Linked DNA regions of Homo sapiens: region 2 is linked to region 1. The links are contacts of gene promoters, found by promoter capture Hi-C in human tissues and cell types (Jung and others, 2019). All regions are on one chromosome and are shown on one strand. The core of a region is centred on a gene start or on the middle of the fragment in contact, and the rest is flanking DNA. Distances in the headings are between cores, read along the strand shown. Region 1 holds the start of SOX12 (SRY-box transcription factor 12). Region 2 has its middle 7.9 kb from the start of SCRT2.

Region 1 (2,700 bases), core at 118-2,617:
CCCCCCGCGCCGCGGAGCCGCACCTCGGTCCTTCCTCCCCGCCCCACACCCTCAAGCTCGGCTCTTGGCCTTCGCTCGTCCAGAAGTGGGTGAGCTGTACCGCCAGAGGCGCATTCTCCTAGCCCCAAACCATGCCCGCTACGCCCCAGCGGAATGCCACCTTAAAGACCCTAATCCGGGCACCTCCCAGCTCCTGCTTCCCAAGGGCGAGGCCTCAGCGCCCCCTCCCATCGCCCATGCTCACGACGCCGTGAAGGTGACCTCCCCCAGGGGCGGCACACGCCCAGTGGTGCCCGAACTGGCTCACACGTGGTGAGCCGGGAGCGCGCGGCCCCTCCCCGCCACGCGCCTCGTGCCGGCCACCCGGCCACGCCCCCAGGACTGGCTCCGCCCCGTGCCCCTGCACGCTTCTCCAGGCTTGGGTGGGGCGACGCGCCCAAGTCGGGCACCGGGCAGGCTACGGGGTGGGGTAGGACCTGGGAATGGCGCACCCACGCATCCTCGAATGTCGCCTGCGGTTTGTGAAAAGCGGGAAGTCCGCCCAGCTCAGGACCTTTGGCTGGCAGGCGAGGTGCCCCGCGGCCCTTGGTGCTGAGCAGGGGAGAGACAGCTGGGACCGCGAGCCTGGGAATCGAATCCTAGTCTGCGTGTCCTCGGTGCTTCCTATTTGGAAACTGGGCATCATATTATCATATTCCCTTCTCCCTCCGGATTCTTATGGAGCTTCGAACGAGATTAAATATACATATATATGAGAAAGGGATTTGTTCACTAGGTCCAAAAGCATTTGCTGGTCCCATATGTGGTCGGACCCTGTGTGTAGTAGGCGGGGGGCAACATCTACGACAACCTGAGTTCGTCCCCTTAAGAAGCTTTCCTGAGTCTTGGGCCCCCCAAATTCTCTTCTGGGATGGTCCGAAAAGACGTCCCTGAAAGAGGAAAGGGCGGAAATCCTACCTGACGGCAGGTGTCTCGGAATGAGCTAAAATTTAAAAGGCAACGCGGGGCAGGGACAAGCGTCCAGCGTCAGATGGAAGCAGGCTCGCGTCCCCTACCCTTCCTCCAACCCCTAACCTAAGAAAAGAAACCGATCTCGCCGGTCTCCCCCAATCCTAGCCGCGAGACCGCCCAGCCCCGCAGCCCGAGCCCCGCCCCGCTCCGGCGGCCAGCGATTGGGAGATGCAAATACCGGCTTCTCTGCCCAGCAACGGGTGACGCGGCGCCCGAGCGCGAGGCGGGGCCCGGCCGCAGCCCAAGCGGGCACCTCGGTGTTTACACGGGGCGGCCCCGCGCGCGCCGCAGCGGCCCGCAGACGGCGAGGGGGAGGGGTGGTGCGCGCGCCGGCGGGGCCGCGCGGGGAGAAAGACACTGAAAGGCGTCGGCGGCCGGGCGGGGAGCGGCGCGCGCGGGCCGCGGCGGAGCCAGAGGCTGCAGGAAGAGCCCGCGGGGGCCCGGAGGGTGCGATTCCTCGGCCCCCGCAAAACAATGTGTGTTGTGAGCCAGGACGCAACTTGCCGGAGGCGGCGGGGGCGCGCCGAGCCCGCCTGAGACCGCGCTGACCTTCTCCCCCCGCCGTCCGTTGGGCCCGAGCGCCCAGCTCCTCGCTCCCCAGTTCGCGGGGGCCGGGCCGAGCCGCGGGGCGGGGCCGCCCCTCCGTCGCCGCTGCCTCCTCCCCCACCCCCAGCCGCGGAGGATGCGGACGGCCCCCGGCGGCGTCTAGCGGCCCCGGGCCCAGGCGCGATGGTGCAGCAGCGGGGCGCGAGGGCCAAGCGGGACGGCGGGCCGCCGCCCCCGGGACCCGGGCCGGCCGAGGAGGGGGCGCGCGAGCCCGGCTGGTGCAAGACCCCGAGCGGCCACATCAAGAGGCCGATGAACGCATTCATGGTGTGGTCGCAGCACGAACGGCGGAAGATCATGGACCAGTGGCCCGACATGCACAACGCCGAGATCTCCAAGCGCCTGGGCCGCCGCTGGCAGCTGCTGCAGGACTCGGAGAAGATCCCGTTCGTGCGGGAGGCGGAGCGGCTGCGGCTCAAGCACATGGCGGATTACCCGGACTACAAGTACCGGCCGCGCAAAAAGAGCAAGGGGGCGCCCGCCAAGGCGCGGCCCCGCCCCCCCGGTGGTAGCGGTGGCGGCAGCCGGCTCAAGCCCGGGCCGCAGCTGCCTGGCCGCGGGGGCCGCCGAGCAGCGGGAGGGCCTTTGGGGGGCGGGGCGGCGGCGCCCGAGGACGACGATGAAGACGACGACGAGGAGCTGCTGGAAGTGCGCCTGGTCGAGACCCCGGGGCGGGAGCTGTGGAGGATGGTCCCGGCGGGACGGGCCGCTCGGGGACAAGCGGAGCGCGCCCAAGGGCCGTCGGGCGAGGGGGCGGCCGCCGCCGCCGCCGCCTCCCCGACACCGTCGGAGGACGAGGAGCCGGAGGAAGAGGAGGAGGAGGCGGCAGCGGCTGAGGAAGGTGAAGAGGAGACGGTGGCGTCGGGGGAGGAGTCGCTGGGCTTTCTGTCCAGGCTGCCCCCTGGCCCGGCCGGCCTGGACTGCAGCGCCCTGGATCGCGACCCGGACCTGCAGCCTCCCTCGGGCACGTCGCACTTCGAGTTCCCGGACTACTGCACCCCCGAGGTTACCGAGATGATCGCGGGGGACTGGCGCCCGTCTAGCATCGCAGACCTGGTTTTCACCTACTGAGCCCACCGTCAG
Region 2 (2,700 bases), core at 78-2,577, 360 kb after region 1:
AGACAGATGGTATTTTTAGCCCCATTTTATAGAGGGAGAAACTGAGCACAAAGAGGTTAAGTAAGTTGCCCAAGGTTTCACAGCCAGTAGGTGATAAGCCACAAATCCAACCCAGGCAAGCTGCTTGGAGGCTCTGCTCTGACCACTCCACCACACTGCCTCCTCTCCAGCTGCAAATGCCTTGGTGGCAATTTCTGGGACCATTTCCATTTTCATTTTTCATTGGCTCAGGACCTCACAGCCTTAACAGGAAGGGGCCTACTGTGGTGGCTGGGGGCATAGCAGGGTCCCAGCTCCCCCTGAAGCTTCTACCTTGCTCCCTCAAAGACTTCCACCTCAAAGCCTTTGCATATATTGTTCCCACTGCCCAGAGCACTCTTCCACCCCCTTCCTTGCCTAGGTAACCCCTCCTCCCATCGCTCCCTTGCCTGACCCCAGGATCTAGCCCAGGATAGGGGTGATATGTAGTGGAAAGGAGCTAGTTGACATTTATTGAGCACTTATTATGTGCTAGGAGCCAAGTCCAGCCCTTTACATAGATTGCCTCACTTAACCATCATAACAACCTGTGAGTGTGGCCCATGGCTATCCCCATTTTACAGATGAGGAAACCAAGGCTCACAGATGCAAGGTGACTTGCCCAAGGAGACCCAGCTAGGAATCAGTGGTGTCAGTATTTAAACCAGGCTGCCTGGCTACAAAGTCCTGATCTTAAACCATGAGTCCTTCCCTCTAAGAGGGCAAAAGATACCAATGCTAGGGTGGGTAGGTGAGGGCCCTCCAAAGAATGTCCCTCCCCTTCCCCCTGCCAGGGCTGACAGCTCCTTGAGTGGGATTCCGGATCTGCTCCATTCATTGCCGCACCTCCATCGTCTACCCAGAGCCGGGTAAATAGTAAGTGCTCAGTAAATACATCAATTGAATGAATAAACTAATGAGTGAAAAACCTTCTTGCGACCCGCAGTCACCTTGGTCCCCTTTGACCAGAGCCAGGTTGACGTGTCAACCGTCAAGATATCCCTCTGTTTTGGGTGATAATTAGATTTCTATCTTGACTGTTACAGACATTGGTATTCCTCCATTAAAATGTCTTTCTTTCAGGCCAGGTCCGGTGGCTCACGCCTGTAATCCCAACACTCTGGGGGGCCGAGGCGGGTGGATCACCTGAGTTCAGGAGTTCGAGACCAGACTGGCCAACATGGTGAAACCCTGTCTCTACTAAAAATACAAAAATCAGCTGGGCATGATGGGGCGTGCCTGTGATCCCAGCTACTCAGGAGGCTGAGGCATGAGAATCGCTTGAACCTGGGAGGAGGAGGTTGCAGTGAGCCAAGACTGCGCCACTGCACTCCAGCCTAGGTGATGGAGTGAGACTCTGTCTTAAAAAAAAAAAAAAAAGAAAGAAAGAAAAGAAAAAAAGTCTTTCTTTCAAAGTTGGAGACATCCCTAAACATTCTAACTCCTGTCCCTGACAAGGTCCCATCTTAAGCAGGTCTCTGAAACCTCTGGAAGAAGGAATTGGCTATCAGGAGTCTGATCACCAGGCTGCCTGCGGGGTCAGGGTATTTGGGGTGGGCCTCTGGCATGGTTTAGCGGTGGGCTGGCCAAAAGCCCCTAGACAAGAGCCCACCATTCAAGCAAGTGGGATAACTCAGCGTTTGGGCCTGGGTCACCCTGAGCCAAGTTTTATTTTTTATTTTTATTTTGTAGAGGTAGGGTCTTGCTCTCATCCAGGCTGTAGTGCAGTGTTGTGATCATGGCTTATGGCAGCCTTGAACTCCTGGGGTCAAGTGATCCTCCTCCCTCAGCCTCCTGAGCAGCTGGGACTACAGGTGCATGCCACCATGCCCTGGCTAATTTTTAAACTCTTTGTAGAGATGGGATTTTGCTATACTTCCCAGACTGGTCTCAAACTCTTGGCCTCAAGTGATCCTCACGCCTCGGCCTCCTAAAGTGCTGGGATTATAGATGTGAGCCACTGTACCTGGCTGAGCCAAATTTTAATCCTGGCTCTGCCTCTTCAAGCTGGTTGGCCCTGGGCAAGTTACTTTGCCTCTTTGCAGCTCTATTTCATCTCTGTAAACAGAGGCCAGTGGGAGCACCTGCTAAGTAGGGCTGTAGGGGGCTTCATGTATAGTCAGCCCTTGGTAAGTGGGAGCTCTACTTGAAGGGCCTTTGAGATAACAGCATTGTCTCCTCCCCACCCCCATTTGACAGTTGTGGAACCTGAGGCATGGGACAGGGAAATGCTTTCCCTGGAACATTCAGGCTCCCTGCCAAGTCAGGATGGGCTTCCTCACTCCAAGGTGGCCTCTCTTGCCTCCCTCTCTTCCCCACCAGCCGAGCTCAGAACCATGCCTGGGAGATGCTGAGGTGGCAATGGAGCTGCAGAGTTGGCATTTCCAGGCTCCCAGGACTCCTGGCACAGAGGAATCAACCCCTCTCAGCAGCCCCGGCTCTGCCTCCTGCTCCCTGCCTCTGCTCATATACCAGCTGGGACTCATCAGCTTCTAGAGAAAGCCAGGAGGTGGCCCAGGTGCATGGAGGCAGGGGGCTGTCAATATTGACCTGTGCTTGACCGCAGACTTTGCCAGTGGACAGGTTGCTAAGGAGTCAGAATGTCCACATGCCCCTAGTGCTCATCTTCCTAGCCTCCCATCTCACCTAGCTGCAGAGGGGGAGGGGGAGCACAAGAGTTGA

What was found. Contacts are between HindIII fragments. The study calls those that stand out against the background at their distance.
Region 2: a fragment that was not itself captured here is called in contact with the fragment with the promoter of SOX12 in region 1 in 1 of the 25 tissues and cell types used here (lymphoblastoid cells).

What each region holds. Positions count from the first base shown.
Region 1 is chr20:324,185-326,884 of GRCh38, forward strand. SOX12 (SRY-box transcription factor 12) reads left to right here and starts at 1,368. Exons shown (of 1, transcript NM_006943.4): 1 at 1,368-2,700. The coding sequence starts at 1,741. The coding sequence ends at 2,688. NRSN2-AS1 (NRSN2 antisense RNA 1) reads right to left here and starts at 1,068. Exons shown (of 3, transcript NR_109990.1): 1 at 958-1,068. RefSeq lists silencers at 238-497, 1,058-1,367, 1,478-1,857, 1,928-1,987, 2,008-2,497. The HindIII fragment of the contact is 5,512 bases long and covers 42-2,700 here.
Region 2 is chr20:682,330-685,029 of GRCh38, forward strand. No RefSeq gene overlaps it. Among named protein-coding and RNA genes, the nearest start is that of SCRT2, 7.9 kb to the left of the region's middle. RefSeq lists a silencer at 2,676-2,700. The HindIII fragment of the contact is 3,071 bases long and covers 1-2,700 here.